4 separate regions of the Homo sapiens genome follow, and regions 2, 3 and 4 are each linked to region 1. Evidence: promoter capture Hi-C in 16 types of primary human blood cells and fetal thymus (Javierre and others, 2016). All regions are on one chromosome and are shown on one strand. The core of a region is centred on a gene start or on the middle of the fragment in contact, and the rest is flanking DNA. Distances in the headings are between cores, read along the strand shown.

Evidence for each region. The method cuts DNA at HindIII sites, captures the fragments that hold promoters and counts their contacts. A CHiCAGO score of 5 or more calls a contact.
Region 2: a fragment that was not itself captured here is called in contact with the fragment with the promoter of CPNE8 in region 1 in 2 of 17 cell types (monocytes and M2 macrophages); the score reaches 9.7 in monocytes.
Region 3: a fragment that was not itself captured here is called in contact with the fragment with the promoter of CPNE8 in region 1 in 1 of 17 cell types (M2 macrophages); the score reaches 5.5 in M2 macrophages.
Region 4: a contact is called between a fragment that was not itself captured here and the fragment with the promoter of CPNE8 in region 1, in 3 of 17 cell types (M2 macrophages, M0 macrophages and M1 macrophages). The highest score is 6.5, in M2 macrophages.

What each region holds. Positions count from the first base shown.
Region 1 is chr12:38,903,630-38,909,437 of GRCh38, forward strand. It overlaps CPNE8 (copine 8), which reads right to left and starts at 1,962. Exons shown (of 20, transcript NM_153634.3): 1 at 1,808-1,962. The coding sequence starts at 1,905. It overlaps CPNE8-AS1 (CPNE8 antisense RNA 1), which reads left to right and starts at 2,083. Exons shown (of 2, transcript XR_007063275.1): 1 at 2,083-3,368; 2 at 5,681-5,808. RefSeq lists a silencer at 1,947-2,116 and an enhancer at 3,247-3,506. The HindIII fragment of the contact is 5,959 bases long and covers 127-5,808 here.
Region 2 is chr12:38,409,576-38,414,796 of GRCh38, forward strand. No RefSeq gene overlaps it. Among named protein-coding and RNA genes, the nearest start is that of ALG10B, 95 kb to the left of the region's middle. The HindIII fragment of the contact is 5,009 bases long and covers 1-4,150 here.
Region 3 is chr12:38,607,253-38,612,810 of GRCh38, forward strand. LOC124902917 (a long non-coding RNA gene) reads right to left here. Exons shown (of 2, transcript XR_007063274.1): 2 at 3,184-3,298. Among named protein-coding and RNA genes, the nearest start is that of ALG10B, 290 kb to the left of the region's middle. The HindIII fragment of the contact is 7,333 bases long and covers 1-5,186 here.
Region 4 is chr12:38,582,334-38,587,456 of GRCh38, forward strand. No RefSeq gene overlaps it. Among named protein-coding and RNA genes, the nearest start is that of ALG10B, 270 kb to the left of the region's middle. The HindIII fragment of the contact is 5,113 bases long and covers 1-4,703 here.

The DNA of each region.
Region 1 (5,808 bases), core at 712-3,211:
CACATGCCATTCAGACTTTGCAGACTGTTGAGCAGAGGATAAGAACTCTAGTAATGCTGTTATTGTAGGACTTCCGGCTATCCATTATCTGTATATACCAGTAACTTCCCTCTAACATCGAAAGCAAGCTTCAGAGAAAAGAAAAAGGCCTAGGAATCCTCTAAAGAGTTTTCCAAACAGCTTCACCTGTTCCATTGACAGAAAAATCTCAGGCAGCACTTAAAGCAGTGACAGCAATGAGGCAAGAGCTTAATGATAGCTATCATTATCAGCATGATTATTTCCATAGTCCCAGATCAGTCTTAAGAGGCGGCAAACAATCAGGTGATATAGTTTCAGGGCTAGATAAAGGCTGTCCCCTACCCTCAAATAATACTTCTACTACGGTTGCTGGTGCTCGAATTTTCACCCCCAGAAAAGAATTCCTTTGGCTTTAGGCTCAGTTTGTGAAAATGCAAAGTCAAGATTGATGGAATTTTAAACTTATTTACATCAAGATCACCCAAATTTGTTAGATATCTTCAAGGCAAGTTTGCTAAGGAAAGGAAAGGGAGGATGTGAGGGCATAAAAACAATCTTAGGGCAAAAATGGATAAATGAGGAGCCAGTTTTCCAGTGAGACAGACCCAATTATGCAAACAAGGGAGTGGGCTCCAGGGTCAATATTAATTCGCAAATTAGTGGCCAGTACCAATTTAGCACCATCGCTCATCTCCTTCTCAAAATCATCTATGATATAGCGGTGATGCTGCTTTATTTACAGGGCAACTAACCGAAAGGTCAGGACAACGAGTTTGCAATTTACAGTCTCTGGACAGGGTTGAAAGTCAGTTTTTTTTTGTTTTTTTTTTTTTTTTGAGATGGAGTCTTGCGCTGTCGCCCAGGCTGGAGTGCAATGGCAAGATCTCAGCTCATTGCAACATCCACATCCCGGGTTCAAGCGATTCTCCTGTCTCAGTCTCCCGAGTAGCTGGGACTACAGGCGCGTGCCACCACGTCCGGCTAATTTTTGCATTTTTAGTAGAGACGGAGTTTCACCATATTGGCCAGGCTGGTCTCGAACTCCTGACCTCGTGATCCACCCGCCTTGGCCTCCCAAAGTGCTGGGAATACAGGCGTATAAACTGTACTGAGCCACTGCGCCCGGCCGAGAGTCAGTTTTTACAAGCACTCAGATGTGGGCCCGAAAACAAATCAAAACAAAAGTCGTGACTTCCCAGATCTTAGGTAAGGCATAGATTCGTCTGCAAGGAGGGCCGAAATCTCTACCTATCAGGCAAAAGGCAAAAAGCCCGGAAGGGTCGGGGAGAAGCAAGCTGGAAGGCTCCAGGAAGTGGGTGGGGAGGAAGCTGCCGGGGTTGGAGCCAACCCTAGCAACAGCAGGTTTGCACACGCCTAGCAGAGGAAGTCCCGGGCCTAAGCGTGCAGCGGTCACAAGAGCTTTTGGCAGTGCTGTCCCCTTCGATTCCGGTCATCACCCAACCATCCAGCCCGGGTTTGGGGCGGAAAACCGGCTTGTAAAGTGGGCGGCGGCCGGTGTTCCCACAGCTGAGTCACAGCCCAGCCAACTTTTACAGCGTTTCCCAGAAAGAAAATACAAAGTCTCAGTCCCGGAGCCCACCGCTTCTAATTCCCGCTCCCCTGTGTCACCTGACCCGGGGTAACTCCAGCCCCACTACTGAGATATTTCCCACTCATGGCGCAACTTCTTGCCTGCGCAAAGCCTCGTGGTACCCCGAGCGCTCTCCAAGTGCTACCAACCCCACAGATGAGAGGGCAGGAGAGAGGGGAAGGGCTGCGTCCTCACCTGCAGGACACGGACACCTCCACCCGCGTGGCCGGGATGGCAGCGCTCAGCTGGTTCAAGTCCCCGATGCCCGCAGTGCTGTTGTAGCGGCTGTCCATATTGGGAGGAGGCGCCTTGGACTTGTCCGGCGCCCACAACCACAGCTCGGGCGGACTGAGGGCTAGCTCCCGTCAGGCGGGGATGGGGGTTGAGGGTGGAGGCAGAAGAAGGAGGCGGAGGCAGCGCGCGGGATGGGGGAGGGAAGGGAGGAGGCGGACCTCCGCGCAGAGCCACGAGGGAACCGCTAGCCAGTCCTGGGTGAAACTGACGCTGCCAGGCAAGTGGCGCGCGGGGATCCCGGTTTCCCAGCCCCCTTCCGGCAGGCAGCAGCCCGGGCGGGGGACACACTCCGTGATCCCCTCCTGGCTGGAGGGGTCAGGCTTGGTGGACCCAGCAAGCAGCCTGATGGAGAAGGTGGCACCAGACGCAGACCCCTACCGTCCAGGACCGCAAGCCCTCGCCGGCTCTGCGTGCTTTTAGGTTTTGTCTCCACCTCTGCACACCCACACTCGCCTCCTGGGCCGCGACAGCTTCCTTCTGTCAATCAGGTGTGGACGGGAAGGTCTCGAAGTTTCCTCGCCTGAGTTGAAAGCTGGAGGTGGGGGCACCTCTGCCCGTTCCTAACTGCCCCGTTATAAGGTCCCCCTCCCCACAATTGGTTCTCACCTCGCCCTCGGAGCTCTTGGGAGATCCCTCCGTCCCTCCTACTGTGCCCTCGGGCAGATGAGTCTGGTCCCAGCTTCTGGACTGCCCACTGTCGGCCACTTGAGAGTTGGGGACGGTGGGGCATTGTGACGCTCTCCAACCTTGGAACACGGTGGCAAAGTGGCCGATCAATATATGGGACAAGTGGGGGCGGGGGGGCGGACTCTAAGGTGGAAAAAACAATACTACTTGGGATTTAAGGAAGCAATCTGGATTCTGTCTCCCCTTGGTTCTTCGGAGCTTAGAGGTCTAACGGCGACATTCCTCCTACAGTAAGGGCTCTTCTGGGTCCCTCGTTTCCAAAGGCATGAAAGTTCTGACCTGAAAATGGGGGCCGGGGAGGGTGATGTCACAACCATATAACGCAGCTCCTTCAGCCGACTCCCACCCGCAAGAACTGAGACCTGACGGATAAAAGCAGAGAGGAGTCAGAGTGAGCGCTGCGTTTGGGAAACTGCATTCCAGGGCAGCAAGACTGGTGCCAAGACGGAGTCGTGGCAAAAGCATCCGGAGGTAGACGAGGCGCCCCTCCACTGCAGGGACCTTTGTTCCCCGCGCCTTCCCTCCTGCCTCACCCGAGCGCCTGCGGGTCCCGGGAGCTCGCCACCAGGCGGCGACGGAGAACAGGATGCGGCGCAGCTGGAAGGCAGAGGGTGGAGAGGGGGCGGGTGTCCGTCCGATTTAACGCTCCAAGCACGGAGTTTCCAGCTGGTTGGGCTAAGTCTGGGAGGAGCAGTTTTTGCGGTGGAGGACTTGCCTTGCGTTGTAACATTTTAATCCACTTGCAGCCTCCTGCCTAGAGAATCTATAGAGGCGGGTGAGAGTGTGTAGGTGCAGTCTTGCCGATTCCCCTGCCGAGTGTACTTCCCCTGTTTCTTCTTGCTTTCCTTTCCTGATTTCCCCACCCACCGCTTTTTCTTCTTTTTTTTTCCTTCCTCTTGTCCTATTACAAATTAAACTGTAGTTTACTGCGATTTGGAAATGCCCTAAAACCCCAGGCATTTCTATTATGCTGCTCAAAGTTAATTTGGCATAGAGATCTAGGTTTTTTTTTAAGCTCACCAGAATTTTACTTTACAGAAGCCTACTGAAGAGATGAAACTTGAGAACTTTAGTAGTCAACATGTGGGATACTTACATCCAATTTGTTTCCACTTCAGTGAGGTATAACATATATAATGAACTGCACTTAAAGTGCATCCATCATTCGATAAATGTTGACTCATGTATCTCCCTGTGAAGCCATCACCAAAATCAAAATAATGAATCATTCCATCACCCAAAAGTTTTCTTACGTCGTAATCAGTACCTCCTTTCATCACTGAAACAACCCTCTAAGCAACCACTGATCTTTATGTCACTATAGAAGAGTTTGCATTTTTAAAAATTATGTATGTGGAATCATAAAGCAGGTAGTATTTTTGGTCTGGCTTCTTCCACTAAGCAAAGTTCTTTTGAGATTCATCTATGTTAGCATCAATAGTTCATTCTACTTTTTAAATATTTATTCATATATACAAAGAAATAAATTTTTAATTTATTTTAAATTAATAAATTTCATTTATTTAATGAAATAAATTTTTAATTTATTTCATTGTATATATGCGCTATAAATTGTCCATTCACCTGATGATGGACACTTTGGTTGTTCGAACTTTGGGCAATTACAAATGAAACTGATATGAACATATATGTACAACTCTTTCTGTGGACGTATGTTTTCATTACTTCTGGGTAAGTACCTAGGAGTGGAACAGCTGGATCATATGGAATGTGTATGTTTAACTTTTTAAGAAACTATTAAGGCCAGGTGCGGTGGCTCATGCCTGTAATCCCAGCGCTTTGGGAGGGTGAGGTGGGCGGATCATGAGGTCAAGAGATCGAGACCATCCTGGCTAACGTGGTGAAACCCTGTCTCTACCAAAAATACAAAAATTAGCCGGGCATGGTGGTGTGCGCCTATAGTCCCAGCTACTCCGGAGGCTGAGGCAGGAGAATCTCTTGAACCCCTGAGGCAGAGGTTTCAGTGAGTGGAGATTGATCGCGCCACTGCACTCCAGCCTAGGGACAGAGCGAGACTCTGTCTCAAAAAGAAAAAGAAACTATTAAACTTTTTTTTCAAAAGAGTTTTACTACTTTTCTTTACCACAACAGTATATAAGAGATCTGGTTGCACACATCCTTGCCAACATTTATGATGGTCTTTTAAATTTTAGCTTATCTAACAGATGTGTAGTAATATCTCATGTGGCTTCATGACAAATGATGTTGAACGTATTTTCCTATGTCTTTTTGCTATGTGTATACGTATCTTCTTTGGTGAAGTGTCTTCATATATTTTACTTATTTTTTTATTATGTTGTTGGTTTTCTTATTTCTGAGTTTTGAGAATTCTTTATTCTGTATCCAAGACCTTTATCGCATGTGGTTTACAAAATATTTTCTGACAGTCTGTGGCTTGTGTTTTCATTCTCCTGTCTATCAAAGAGAAGAAGTTTCTAATTTTGATGAATCTAGTTCTTCAACGTTATCTATTATAAATCATAATATTGATGTCAAAACTAAGAAATATTTGTCTAATGTGAGATCACAAAAATTATCATCTTCTATACTTTCCCCTAAAATTTTAGTTTTAGGTTTTACGTTTATCTCTATAATTTATTTTGGTTTTTCTAATCAAAGTTCTCATTTTTACACATTGTCATCAGATTTTGCTAGCACCATTTGTTGAAAATACTACCCTTTTTCATTGAAAAATCTTTGCATCCTTTGCCAAAAATTAACATATATCTATGAGTCCATTTTTTAGACTCTATCCTATTCCATTTACCTATTTGTCTTTCTTTAAGCCAATGCCACAGAGTCTTGATTACTATAGCTTTAAAATAACTCTTAAAGTCAGGTAGTATAAATTTTCCAACTTTGATCCTCTTCAAAATTGTTTTTTCATTTTTAATCCTTCTCATTTTCATATAAATTTTAGAATCAGCTAGACAAGGTCCACAAAAAGTCTTGTTGAGATTTTCATTGGGGTTGCATTGATTCTATGGACAAATCAGAGAATAATTGACATCTGATCCAAATTTATCTTCTGATCTATGAACATTATATATCTTTCCATTTATTTAGGTCTTCCTTAATATATGTCAGCAGTGGAGTGGTGTGCTTAAGGAGAGAGAGACTTGGAAAAATACAGACCGAGAACAAGGCCATGTGGAGATAGAGGCAGAGACTGAAGTTGTACCACCAAAGGCAAA
Region 2 (5,221 bases), core at 396-2,895, 490 kb before region 1:
AGTTCTTTGGTCTATTAAGTTTGTGGCTAATTTCTTTTCCTGGGAACCAAATATCTGGTGACATTTCCTCTCTCTGCTCATCTGAGTGTTTGAGAGTCACTGTTCACAAGACTATAACTGTCAGTTCTGATTAAAGAATTTTGTCTACAATGACGGTGGGCAGGAGTAGGAACAGGATGTGCTGTCAGGGAGGGTTTACCAGGCTCAAGTGATCTCTGTTCTTTTCATAGTCTGAATATTAGTATATAAAGAGTATATTCTATATTCCTCTAGGGAGAACATGGATAAATAAAATTGAAAATGTAGTTTGAAAAGACTGTAGAAATGGCTTAATTATTAAAGTTGTGGATCTTGTGGATTGATGAAAATGAATTCCTCCTAACAACTCCTAGTCTCTTAATATCTTTACACAAATGAGGCAATAAATTTCAAAGATTTTGGAAGCCAGTTCATTATTACTACCTCAAGTGAGTCTTACTGGAGTTAGATGTTGCCTTACACCTCCCAAATAAGAAATCTTTTAGCAGAATTTATGCAATCATGGGTTACAAAACTGGCATACTTAGACACTGAAATCATAAACTTTATTATTATTAACCATGTTCATATAATGGAACTAACTTTTAAACTAACATGCATCCATTTCACTAGTATTATGCTGTGTGCGATATGATCTGAATGTTTGTATACCCCCAAAATTCATGTATTGAAACTAACGTCAAAGGTGATAGTGTTAGGAGGTGGGGCCTTTGCAAGGGGATTAGGTCAAGAGGGCTTTTTCCTTATGAATGGCATGAGTGCCCTCATGAAAGAGAACTGAGGGAAGTTGTTTGCCTCTTCTGTCAAGTGAGGACAGATGAAGAATGCCTATTTAGACGCCAGAAAGCATAACCTTACCAGACGCTGAGTCTGCTGGTGCCTTGAGTTTTAGACTTCCTAGTCTCCCAAACTGTGAAAATTAAATTTCTGTTCATTTTAATCCACCTAGATTATGGGTTTTTCATTATAGTATCCCAAACTGACTGAGGCAGCATGATGTACCTATTGCTTTTATTATTATAAAGACTCTATAGAAAAGTTTGATATCCACATGTGTCCAGTGGTTACTGTATGGGACAGCATAGTTCTAGAGGGAGTAAGCATATGACAAGCAGTTTAACAGCTAAACATATAATATATTCGGTGGTAAAAAAGAGTCCTTTGAACAAAGCAAGATAGGTAAAGGGACCAATAATTATGAGTGGAGGAGTGTGCTATTTTAAATAGTTAAGGTGGACAGACTAGTGTTCTCTGATAAGGTGACATTTAAGCAGAAACCTGAAATAATGAAAATAATATGCCTAACACAATACACAGCATGTAGTAAGTACCAAATACATTTTAGTGCTCATTACTAGCTAAGAAGAATTGTGTTATTCACTCCATACTTGAACTATATTATAATGGACTTCTTATTTTAGAAGAAAATTTTCCTTTATTTTTAAACAAACCAAAAATACTGTTACTTAAAAATATTAAATTCTGGTTGGGCATGGTGGCTAACGCCTGTAATCCCAGCACTTTGGGAGGCTGAGGCAGGCGGATCATGAGGTCAAGAGATCAAGACCATCCTGGCCAACATGGTGAAAACCCATCTCTACTAAAAATACAAAAACTAGCTGGGCGTGGTGGCGCACGCCTGTAGTTCCAGCTACTCTGAAAGCTGAGGCAGGAGAATCACTTGAACCCGGGAGGCTGAGGTTGCAGTGAGCCGAGATCACACCACTGCACTCCTGCCTGGTGACAGAGTGAGACTCCGTCTCGAAAAAAAAAAATTAATTAATTAATTAAATTCTAGTCATGATTTCATAAAAAGAAATATTCTCCTTGCAGTATCAACAGAGAGAAAATAGCTAACTAAGTACTATAACAATAACTCAGTAGAGAACAAAGAACAGTTTATTGGTCTCCCAATTTCTTTTTAAATGAAAAACAGTGAAGTTCAATCTTAAACAAAGTTTTCCTGCCAGCAAAGTTGTCAGATGTATGAAAGGGGAAGTTGTTGCTCAGCAACACAATGAGACTGAGCTCCCATGATAAGTTCTTACATAACCTCCAAACGGTACATTGGATAACAATGCTATTGGGGCAAGTGGAAAACTTGCTTTCATAGACAGCAAGCATTTTTGAAATCATTCTTAATTAAAAGTTGAACACTAATTTTCTTACGGTGAAACTTTTATAGTTACACCATGTCCTTATTTATGTTTTACGACTTAAAGTGCAATTTACCTCATGCTAAGAACATTCATTGTGACAGTTCTGTTGGAAATTTTGCATTCTATTTCAAATGAAGCCTTCCCTTTATGATTCTGTCTTTAACTTGGGTGACTCAAAGATCTTTTCCCACCTTTGATTTAAGTCTTTGACTAGCTACAGCTATATTAGGTTGAACCTCACCCAATGATCAATTTTTGTTACCTTTGAAACATTCTAGAATGGTTTAGATGCAGTGTTTGATTAGACTTGAAAATGAAATTTTTTTTAAAGGTAAACAAGCCCTTCTCTGAAGGCATTGAGGGAAAACCTGCAAGGTCATCATATTTTACAATGTATCTACCTAACTAAATCCTATTCAGATTTTAATCCCTAATTCAAATCCTAACTCCTCCATATGGTCTTTCCAAGGACCCTAGATGATAAGGCTTTAATCATGTGTTGCTTTTATGCCTCTATTCTCCTCTTTATTTTAGTCACATTTCTTTTGGAATGCAGCAAATACATTTTATCATACCTTTACTTTCCCTTGGGAACTTACTGACATGCTGTGCCCAAAGTATGTAATGAAATAACAAGAATAATACATAGTAACTTTATATGGGACCTTATACTTTTTATAACATTTTACCTATGTTATCTACATGAAAACTAGGGTTTACATATGTTGACTGGGTACCTTTCAGTTAGAAGTGAAAGGGCTTTGTTGACTATAAATATCTAATTTGATCCTCATGGATGAGAAAATTTTATTTTAAACAGAGTGTAGATGAAGAATCTGAGCTTCACATTAAGCTATTTGAAAGAAACTTATAAGTAGTCAGGGGTCAGCAATCTGATTCTTTTTCTCTTTATTGTAATCTAAAATGTCTTAATGAATGCTTGGAAAAATGAAGAAATAAGTGATAGACTTAAGGAAGGAATAAATGATTGAATACTTTTTTTTAATTTTATCACCATCTTTCATTCATCACCCAACATTGTCTATCTGTTGATAAATATCAGATACAATGTTCTTCATTCTTTTTCTTGATATTTTGCTAGCTCAATCCTAATTAGTTTTCAGCCATTTGATATCTACCACCTAGTATTTCACTTTCTTAGTGTCTAACTTATCCTCCTTTCAATCCATCCTATTCTTAAAGTGAGAATCATTTCCCGCAAATTCCATTTTGATCACTCATATCTATATACTAAAACTAAGAAAGGATTTCCTTTGCCCAATATATCTGAGACAGATAATCAAGCCCCTTATTTAAATTTCTTTATTTTATTTTATTTTCTTGAGCCATCATATCACCTACTATAGCATTCAAAAAAGCAAATCTACTCTGCCTCTCTCTTACTCGTTTTTCTTGCTTCTTTGTCTTTTTGTCGCTCATTATCTATCAATTCATACTCTACTCTTTTTTCAGTTACTACCTGATTCAAACTTTACCTCCTTAGGAAATAATTCTAATCATGGCTTTGGGAAACTCCTCCGCAACCCCCACCCCCACATGCAAACTTGTTTGCATAGCATTTGAAGTGTTAATATATGTCCTTGAATAAATAATCTGGTTGTTATAGTCTGTCCTCTTTCTTTTCTAGATTGCTATGTGATGACAACCGTATGTTTCTTAGCTGCCTCTATAATGTTACCACCAAAAAATATTGTTAAAAAGTGTTTTCTCACCTTGAATGCGCAGCTCTTCACAGAGCTGTTTTGGTATTCAAACAATTGCCTAAGATTTCTTTCAAGGCATATCAAAGGTGAAAATTAATGTTCTCTATTTCAAAGATTTTGCCAAGTTACCAAGAATAGCATAAGTCAGTAAGACATACCAGGGGAATACAAATATTTCTGTATGTTGTTAATATGTCTAATAAAATGAGAATCTTTTGTACTGCCTCAAGCTTTTTCTCTCTTTCTGTAGAAATAACATAGAGATGTATGTAACCTCAGAATAAAATCTTATGCATGTCATGAAGAAAGCAAAGCTTATATGTAATAATTAATAGGGGCCAGTCTTCTCCTTCAATTATAGCTACAAAATATCTAATGGTTAACTACAAAAAAAGGTATCTATAAGCAAATCAGCAGAAAAACCATACATGCTCCAGAATTGACACAAGTTATTAGGAAAAGAAAAACAAGATTTAATGGTCTTTGCTGGAAGAGATATCAGAAACAAGAAGAGCAAAAATTAGATGGGTTTAGGAGTGAGTATAAAAACAATGTTTTTTTTTTTTTCTTTTTTGGAAACAGAGTTTCACTCTTTTTGCCCAGGCTGGAGTGCAATGGCACGATTTCGGCTCACTGCAACCTCTGCCTCCCAGGTTCAAGCAATTCTCCTGCCTCAGCCTCCCGAGTAGCTGGGGTTACAGGCATGTGCCACCACACCCGGCTAATTTTGTATTTTCAGTAGAGACGGGGTTTCTCCATGTTGGTCAGGCTGGTCTAGAACTACCGAACTCAGGTGATCCACCCACCTCGGCCTCCCAAAGTGCTGGGATTACAGGCGTGAGCCACCGTGCCCGGCCAATAACAATGTTTAATTAAAACCTAGGAACACATGTAAAATTGCTGAAATTAAGGCAGAGAAGCATTTAGCAAGAGGCTTTCATCAATTAGAATAGATCAGAAAACAGCTCTCATATGTATATGGGTTTGTATGTTTGATAGATAATGTTCCCTAATGAATACACAAATAAGCAACTTCTCCCTCTGTCCTCTCAGAGGGAAGAAGAGGACCAAGGTACTTCTTAACTAAGCCACCCTTTTCATCTGGAAGCTTTAACCTACTCTTTTTTTTCCCCCTCGAATTTCTAAATTTTATAGAAACTTTCTCTGATAATTTTTGTTCTCCAACATTAGCATATACAATTAAGTCTTCTGACTACTGTGGCCCCTTCTCTGTCCTTGTTTTACCCATTACACTGTCTGAACAATACAGCCTGCCACATGAGTGGAAGTTTAATTTCC
Region 3 (5,558 bases), core at 270-2,769, 300 kb before region 1:
CACACACACACACAATGATTTTTTTCTGTATGTACATACCCACGATATAAATTAAACACAGTAAGAGATTAACAACAATAACAAATAATAAAACATAACAATTATAACAATATGCCAGCATCACTGCTCTTGCACCTTGGGACCAGTATTAAGTAAAATAAGGATTACTTTGGCACAATCATTGCAATAATGCAGCAATCAGTCTGATAACTGAGTAAGCTACTAAGTGACTCATGGGCAGGTAGTATATACAGTGTGGATGCACTAGACAAGGGGATAATTCATATCACAGGCAGGACAGAGAAGGATGGCACAAGATTTCATCATGCTACTCAGAATGGCCTATAATTTAAAACTTATGAATTGTTTATTTCTGAAATTTTCCATTTAATATTTTTGAACCTTGATGACCTTGGGTAACTGAAATGGCAGAATGCTAAACCACTGATAATGTGGGAACTACGGTATACTGAAAACTACAAAACACTGCTGAAAGGAATGAAAAATGATAAATAAATTAATAAATGGAATAAGATCCCATGTTTATGTATTGGAAGACAATATTCTTAAGATGTCAATACTATCCAAAGCAATCTACAAACTCAATGCAATCAATATCAAAATACCAATTCTTCTGTGCATGTGGTGGAGAGGGACAGCAAGTGCAGTGTCCAGAGGCCCCTTTTCTGATTTCCCAGTCCACAGCAGCAGTGACACTGGGAATGCTCCAGCCTTCTAGAGACCAGATCCTTCTGGCAGCAATCATAAATAGATCCAGGGTTTACAGAAAAATATATTCCTGGGTTCTCTATTCTGTTCCATTGGTCTATGTGTCTGTTTTTGTACCAGTACTATGCTGTTTTTGTTACTGTATCCCTGTAGTATAGTTTGAAATCAGGTAGCATAATTCCTTCAGCTTTGTTCTTTTTGCTTAGGATTGCCTTGGCTATTTGGGCTCCTTTTTGGTTCCATAAGAATTTTAAAACAGTTTCTTTTTCTAGTTCTGTGAATCATGTCAATTATAGTTTAATAGAAATAGCATTGATTCTATAAATTGCTTCAGGCAGTATTGGCATTTTAATAATATTTATTCTCTCTATCTATGAGCATGGAATGTTTTTTCCATGTTTGTGTCATATCTGGTTTCTTTGAGCAGTGTTTTGTAGTTCTCTTTGTAGAGAGCTTTCAGCTCCTTGTTTAGACGAGAATGAGGCTGCACACCTACAACTATCTGATCTTTGACAAATCTGACAAAAACAAGCAATGTGGAAATGATTCCCTATTCAATAAATGGTGCTGAGATACTGGTTAGCCATATGTAAAAGACTGAAACTGGGCCCCAGCCTTATCCCATATACAAAAATTAACTCAAGATGGATTAAATACTTAAATGTAAAACCCAAAACTATAAAATCCCTGGAACACAACCTAGGCAATACTATTCTGGACATAGGAATGGACACATATTTCATAATGAAGACACCAAAAGCAATTGCAATGAAAGCAAAAATTGACAAATGGGATCTAATTAAACTAAAGAGCTTCTGCACAGCAAAGGAAACTATCAACAGAGTGAACAGACTACCTACAGAGTGGGAGAAAAGTTTTACAAACTATGCTTCTGACAAAAGTCTAATATCCAGCATCTATAAAGAACTTAAACAAATGTACAAGAAAGAATAATTAAAAAGTGGACAAATGACACGAATAGACACTTTTCCAAAGAAGACATGCATGCAGCCAACAATCATGTGACAAATAGCTCAACATCATTGATAATTAGAGAAATGCAAATCAAAACCTCAATGAGATACCAACTCACACCCGTCAAAATGGCTATTATTAAAAAGTCAAAAAATAACAGATGCTGGCAAGGTTGTGGAGAAAAAGGAATGCTTATATGCTGTTGGTGGAAGTGTGAATTAGTTCAACCATTGTGGAAGAAAGTGTGGCGATTCCTCAAAGATCTAAAGACAGAAATACCATTCAACCCAGCAATCCCATTACTGGTTATATACCTGAAAAATATAAATTGTTCTAATATAAATGCACAGGCATGTGTATGTTCATTGCGGCATTATTCACAATAGCAAAGACATGGAATCAACCTAAATGCCCATCAATGATAGATTGGATAAAGAAAATGTAGTACATGTACACCATGGAATACTATGTAGCCATAAAAAAGAACAAGATTATGTCTTTCACAGGAACACGCATGAAGCTGGAGGCAATTATCCTTAGCAAGCAAACACAGGAACAGAAAAACAAATACCACATGTTCTCACTTATAAGTGGGAGCTAAATGATGAGAACTTATGGCCACTCAAAGGGGAACAACACACACTGGGGCTCACCAGACCGTGGAGGGTTGAGAGTGGGAGGAGGGAGAGAATCAAAAAAAATAAGTAATGACTACTAGGCTTAATACCTGATAACAAAGTAATCTGTACAACAAACCCCCATGACACAAGTTTACCTATATAACAAATCTGCACATATACCCCTGAACTTAAAATAAAAGTTAAATTTAAAAAGAAAAATACAGGGCCGGGCACGGTGGCTCACGCCTGTAATCCCAGCACTTTGGGAGGCTGAAGCCGGTGGATCACAAGGTCAGGAAATCAAGACCAGCCTGTCCAAGATGGTGAAACCCCGTCTCTACTAAAAATACAAAAATTAGCCAGGCGTGGTGGTGCATGCCTGTAATCCCAGCTACTTGGGAGGCTGAGGCAGGAGAACTGCTAGAACCCAGGAGGCGGAGGTTGCAGTGAGCCAAGATCATGCCACTACACCCCAGCCTGGGCAACAAGAATGAAATTCCATTTAAAAAAATAAAAGAAAAGAAAAAGAAAAAAAAATACAGTCCTAATGAATGGGAAAATGAGGAGTCATAGTAAAGAAATAAAAAGTATAAAAGAGAGCCAGATAAAAATTTTAAATCTAAAAATATAATAAGTGAATCAAAATTAATTGAACAGCTTAACAACAAATTGGAGAAAGTAAAAGAATCAGTGAAGTTCAATGATACAGAATTGAAAACATTAAATCTGGAGAACTGCAAGAATAAAGATTGAAGAAAAATTAAGTGAATATCAGTGACCTATGTGATAGTATAAGACAGTTTAAGACATATGTAATTGGAGCTACAGCTGTAAAGGAGAAACAGAAACTAGCAGAAAATTTACTTGTAAAATTTTATTTTTCTCTTTGATATTCTTCAGTTTTCGTGAGATGCGTACGTATCAATGACTCTGTTTTCACTCATCAGGCATTTTGAACATCTTCAATCTGAAAACTAATAATGTTACTATTAGAAAATTATCAACTATTATCTTCCCTTGTCTATGATCTTTCCAACCTTTTTTCTTGCTAATTCTGGAATTCCTATTACTATATGTTAGACCTTCATTTACTCTCTTTCATGTCTGTATTTTCATCTCTTTATCTCACTATATACATCACTAAATTGATTTTTCTATATACTATCCCTCTTTAGTTGAATTTACTGTTCTGTATAATCTGTCCTTTGTATTCATAATTTTATTAATTATATTTTTCTTAGAGATTTGATTTGTCTCTGTTTCACATTTAGTCTTTTACAATTCCCATACCTCCCTCAATATGGATTTTATCCTTCTTGTATCTCTTTAAACATTAAGCAATTAACATTGTTAAACAATGTTAACAAACGTTAAATTTCCCATTGTTAAACAATGTTAAACATTGACATTCCATAGTCATGTTTGTATTGTTCTTTTATTGCTAGCTATTCATATATTATTGTTCACATTTGTTGACTAGGGTAATTAATTTTCATGTGGAGTTTAAATTTTTTTATGTCTCATCTTCAGTGAGGGCAGATTTATTTGTGGGAGTCTTACTGTGGGCCAATGTTAAATTATTAACTTTTGGTTTCCTACCACATGGGTGGTAAACATTCAAACCTCACAGCCTGTGATTTGGGATTAGAGTTTCCATTTCTTCAAGGTTATGTTTTTTTCCTTTTATGGTTCTGAGCAATTGACATGATTCCTGATGTTCCCCGGACCTGTGGATTTTCTAGTCCAATTTTCATAGACATTATAGCCAACAGTGACATCTATTTTCTTTTCTTTGAAGAGGGTTCCATTCCAGCTGTGCCAAAAGCACAGCTTTTGTTCCAATATGAGTAACAATATCCTGATCTCTCAACTTTATCTCAGCTCTCATACCTCCAAGCGACTTCAGTAACAGCTAAAAGTTCTGTTTTATGTTTCACTGTCATTTGCAGCAATGAACAAATATCTCCTCCCTTTTGTTGTCTTTTGGTGAGTTTGGCTGTACATTTTTCTAACGTGTTGTTCCCAAGAATTCAGTCATTTTTCTCTAGAAGTGCAGTGTTTTCAGGAGGAGTTTTTGTGGCAGTACAGAGAAGAATCACGTTTACTGAGTTTGCCATATTTAACCTCCTTTTCACATTAGGATAGAGATATTCCTATGTCATTGATTTTTCATTGCTTCATTTTTATTGACTGAAGACTAACTATATTTGTATGTCCTAAATGTCTTAAATTAACCAACTAAATCTCTATTTTGGGACCTTTTGGTCGTTTCCATTTTTCCTCTCTCATAGACCTTTTCTCATAATGAATATTGCATTATTTAGTTACTTTTTTAAAGTATCCAGTAGAAAACAGTCAAGAGATATGCACACACACATACAATATTAAAATATTAAAAGCAATGGTAAAAATTGTAATTACTTTTGTACCAACACAATAATAACAAAGCCAAATAGAGCAGAAGGTTCTAGGTAGTAACAATAGTCAAGGAAAGAGTTAATAAATGGGAAAGTACCAAAATTTCCATTCCCTATAGCAATGCTTTAGCTATCAAAAAGCTCTATTTGGGGCCAAGTGTGGTAGCTCACACCTGTAATCCCAGCACTTTGGAAGGTCAAGGCAGGCAGATCACCTGAGTTTGTGAGTTTGAGACAAGCCTGGCCAACATGATAAAACCATCTCTACTAAAAACACAAAAATAATCTGGGTGTGGTGGCACATGCCTGTAATCCCAGCTATTTGGGAGGCTGAGGCACAAGAGTCACTTGAACATGGAAGGTGGAAGTTGCAGTGAGCTGAGATAGCACCACTGCACTCCAGCCTGGGTGACAGAGCAAGACTCTGTCTTAAAAAAAGAAAAGAAGCTTTGTTTGTTTGTTAGTTTGTTTGTTGGAAATAGGGTTCTTTTTGTGTTTTTTGAAGCAATGAATGGTCCATAAAATGAAAGAATGTTGTAGTAAACGAGAACGAAATTCCTTTGATGGCACTGTATTGCAGAATGAGACTGATCATGCTGTAAGAAAAACATTAATGTCATTGGAGCAGATATCACTTTCTCTATTTCATGCTGACTGCTTTCTATTTTGAGATGTCTACTGGATGGTAACATATAGAATCCTGAGGAGCATCACTTTATCAGTCTTTGAAAAGAATTAGTAATTGTGATTAGTGCACTTCAGCTGAAACTACTGTGAACTTATTGGAACTAATCTTCCAAAGTGTTTCCGATACTAT
Region 4 (5,123 bases), core at 897-3,396, 320 kb before region 1:
ATTGTTTATTGAAAATGTATTAATAACTTTTGTATCTTTACTTCCCACATTATAAAGCATTCTACTTTGTCTCTTGTAATGCATTTTGCTCTGAATTAGATTTTGCCTCATGTGAATATGATTTCTGCCTTGTTTGTTTTTATTTTCTAGTGCACATTTGTCAATTCTTTTTTAATTCTAATTTTAAATTTCTGGGTACATGTGCAGGATGTGCAGGTTTGCTACATAGGTAAGTATGTGCCATGGTGGTTTGCTGCACTTATCAACCAATCACCTACGTATTAAACCCAGCATACATTAGCTATTATTCTTAATGCACTCCCTCCCCTCACCATACCCCCGAGAGGCCCCAGTGTGTGTTGTTCCTCTCCCTGTATCCACGTGTTTTCATTGTTCAGCTCCCACTTATAAGTGAGAACATGCAATGTTTGGTTTTCTGTTCCTGTGTTAGTTTGCTAAGGATAATGGTTTCCAGCTCCAGCCACATCCCTGCAAAGGACATGATCTCATTCTTTTCTATGGCTGCATAGTATTCCATGGTACTACATTTTCTTTACCTAGTCTATCATTAATGGGCATTTGGATTGATTTCATGTCTTTGCTATTGCTGCAAAGAATAGTGCTGCAAATGAACATATGTGTGCATGTATCTTTGTAATTCTATTTATATGCCTTTGGGTATATACCCAGTAAAGAGATTGCGGGGTCAAATGGTATTTCTGGTTCTAGATCTTTGAGGAATTACCACACCATCTTACACAATGGTTGAACTAATTTACATTCCCACCAACAGTGTAAAAGCATTCCTATTTCTGTGCAACCTCATCAGCATCTGTTGTTTCTTGACTTTAATAATCGCCATTCTGACTGTTGTGAGATGGTATCTTATTGTGGTTTTGATTTGCATTTCTCTAATGATCAGTGATGTTGAGCTTTTTTAAATGTTTCTTGGCCACATGAATATCTTCTTTTGAGTAGTGTCTGTTCATGTCCTTTGTCCACTTTTTAATGGGGTTGATTGTGGGTCTTTTTGTAAATTTGTTGAAGTTCCTTGTAGATTCTGGACATTAAACCTTTGTGGGATGGATAGATTGCAAACATTTTCTCCTATTCTGTAGGGTGCCTGTTCGCTCTGATGATAGTTTCTTTTGTTGTGTCAATTCTTTTTAACATCAATCTTTTTGAGACACTTTGCTTTAGACTGTCTTTCTGTTCATTCTAGTTGGGTTTCACTTTGTGATCCATTGAGTTTTTTTCTTTTAATAGGTAAGCATAGCCCATTTAGGTTAAATAATATCACAAGAATGTTTGATCTTAATTCTGTTGTACTTTTGAAATTTAGATGATATTCACATAACATTAAATTAACCATTTTAAAGTGAACAATATAGCGACATTTAGTAAATTCACAGTGTTGTACAATTCTATTGTACTTTGAAATATCTTTTGCAGCTTATTTGAGAATATGTTGTATAGATTTAATAAAATCCTTTACTGTGTTCCCCTTGCTCGTATATTTCTATCTTAAGAAGGTTTTTGTTTTTGTTATAATTTTACTTGATAACTAAAAGTTCTGATAATGCATGTAATCCTGCTTCCTACAAGTAGCAATATTATGTCCCACTACCCTAAAATACACGTGTTTATGTCTTACTTGTAGACAATGTTAACCAATTGTTTCTTGGTTAGGTGAAGTTGATCTTAAGAAAGTCTTATAGGAACATTTTACTACCTGGTTCTTATATGATCATGATTGATCTGTAACATTTTATCCTTGAAATACAGTTACATTTGGTATGAAATCTTTGGCTCCTTTTTTCCTGGAAGATTTCAGAGGTATTACTCTACCTTCCTTCATGTCTAAGGAAGACTAGGGCTAGCTTGGCTTTTTCACACTTCATAAGTGACTTTATCTATCTACCTGTTGCCTAAAGAATACCATCATTGGCCGGGCGCGGTGGCTCACGCCTGTAGTCCCAGCACTTTGGGAGGCCGAGGCGGGCGGATCACGAGGTCAGGAGATCGAGACCATCCCGGCTAAAACGGTGAAACCCCGTCTCTACTAAAAATACAAAAAATTAGCCGGGCGTCGTGGCGGGTGCCTGTAGTCCCAGCTACTCGGGAGGCTGAGGCAGGAGAATGGCGTGAACCCGGGAGGCGGAGCTTGCAGTGAGCCGAGATCATGCCACTGCGCTCCAGCCTGGGCGACAGAGCAAGACTCCGTCTCAAAAAAAAAAAAAAAAAAAAAAAAAGAATACCATCATTATCTTGGAAGTGCAGTATATTTACCAGGATGTGCCTTTGTTAATTTTTAGGTAAATTTTCATGGGAAACAGTATATCCATTCAAATCCTCTTTTATTTTAAAAAGTATATCTTTAAATATTTGTTCTGTTCAATCATTTCAGTTAACTTCATAGAAGAATAATTATGAATATTATAATATATTTTGTTGATCTCCATAGCTATTATTTTCTCTAATCCTTTAAAACTCCTTTATTATTTTCATTTTAGTTTGTCATCAATGTCTTTAATTGTTTTCTACAGTGTTTATTCTCACTGTGATCCTCAAAATTTGTCCTGCTTTTTGTGATGGCTTTATATTTTTTCCTTTTACTTCTTTCCTGAATTATGCCAATTTCTTTTTATTTCCTGCTGCTATCATATCATTTTTCTCCTTGAGTACTTACATTTTTGTTTTATACACTTGTTTTATAGAATGTTTAGTTTATTTCTGTATTTTAATAATAAGCAAAGTCTTGGCAAATGAAAATTTTTACTTGTTCCATGAGAACACTTCTCTGTTGTTTGTTTCCAGCTGAATGTAACAGTAAAACCCCAAAGGACTGTAGCACAAATAAAATTTATCCCCAATTCATGTACAAACAAACAAAAGGAGATTGGTATCCGGTAGCCTGGAGCTGGTGAGTGCCCACAAAATTACCTACGATCATTCTGACTCATTGTATCTCATTCTGGCTAGAAATTCAACTGTGGAGGATGAGGGGGAGAAGAAAGTATCACTTTCTTTTCAAGTAATTCTTCAAAATTCCACCTAACACTTCTGCTTATATATCTCTTTGACCCAAACTTAGTCAAGGAGCCATGTGTATCTTTAAAAGAAACTGGGAGACATAGTTTCTCAGCTGGATGGGCCATGACAACTATAAATTAGGATTCTTTTGCTCACAAAACGGATGAAATTAGGTTTAGGGGACCGCGACAGAAGTTGAAAAGCAACAGCTGCCACAACATCCTTCATCTTCGTTTTCTTTTTCTGTTTCTCCCACTACCCTGCCTTTTAAACTTATTCTTTATTTCAATAAGTTTTTTCCTTATTGTAGTTTTCTTGTTGTTGTGTATTTTTCTGGATTTGCTATTTCAGAATTTTCATGTGAGACACGGGATACATCCCATTACCATGATCTACCTGAGGATTGTTTAGCTGTGACTTCTCTACAACCAACAAGAATAAGTAGCCATGGATTTTTCTTTTTCCTGATAGAAAGACTACACTCTGTCATGCTGCTCTTCATATTGCACAGTGTGGACTTCGGTTTTACACTTCAGGGTAGGCCTCTCAGTTTAAATAGTGGTATTCTTACTGGTTCTTCCTGAAATCTACAGTCAAAGCCAACTTTTCCAGTGGGATCCTTGTTTCCTCCACTTTCTTTCAGGGGTCCACCTGTTCTATTTCTATTCTTTTGAGCATCATTCCAGCTATTTGAGAATCTGGAGTTTTCGTTGACTTCTAGTTTTCCCCAAAAATAGATTCTATTTATTTATTCAGATTTTATAATTTTGTTTCACTTCTCCTTGTTGGTTGTGAATAATTTCCAGAAAGAGAATGATATTTAGTAACTATATTCAAATGAAGGCCCAAACCATTACTTTTTACAATCTATCCTATAATTGTTTTGTTACAGTGATATCAAGCATTTTCTTGACTTTGACAATGACTTTGCCTATATATTTACAGTTTGCTGGAACCCTTTTAATTCTTCATCATTTCCCAACTTGCTGTTGTGACACTGTTTTAACAATCAGTGAAGTTTTGCAAATTGGCTCAACGACCCCTGTGTTATTATCCATTGGAACCAAATATTTAAATTCATTAAAAGCAGGTTTCCTCTCAATTTTTTGACTAACTTGGATTTCAATTTCTGTTTTAAAATATTTGTTCTATTCTTTAAATTCTATTCTGATGTTTCTACTCTATTCTAATATCTTTGCCAGAAAAAAAGGGCAGAAGCAAAGAAGAGAGAGGTACTCATTTCTTTCTATCATCTATCAACACTGTTATTTCCCCATGCAGCACACTACTCCTGTCTGTGAAGAAGAAAAGAAGTACTGATTATAAAACAGAGACCTAGCTTTTTTTTTTTTTTTTTTTGACATTCTCCCATTGTTTTCTAGGCACTCATAAAATATACAGCTTGGAATCTGCTATCTTCCCTAAGTGCTTATTCATTTTTAATAAATGCAATAATGAGTATGGTGATTTAATATTTTGTACAGATGAATGAATTTCTCCCTTTATCTCAACATTCTTACCCTAGACCTTTAATTGCACAATCTTTATTATTCATTCTCTTTACCATACCTCCCACTGTCATCCAGCCTCTAACACACTGGGATTCTTTCTGGACATCAATGCTTTAAGACTCTATCTGAAACTATAATTCCTGGTAGTAACCACATTTAAGCTTCTGTCTGCTATCTAAATTGGAGCTCCAGACTACTCATGTCTGAATCATTTATTTGTATCCTCATAAGGCTATTATGTTGCTTAACTCATGTTGCTAAACATCATCATCTTGGCTATCTTTTGCTTTACCTCAGAACTTCCTAGTTTTATTCTCTTCTGTCCATATTAAATTTTTAAATTGCAAAAACAACCATTTCTTCTAACACATGTTTAGATGGAAGTAAACATGTGAAACAGCTTTATGTTATTTTAAGTATATATCCCAAATTATATCCATGAGCATGTTTAGATTTCCTGTCTCATCACAGTTTTTAAGAAAGGAGAGAAGGAATGGCCACTACCTCAACAAGGAGAGCAATATAGTGCAGAGGAAAGTTCTGAACAGACAGGAAGGAAAAGCAAAAGCCTGTGCCTTC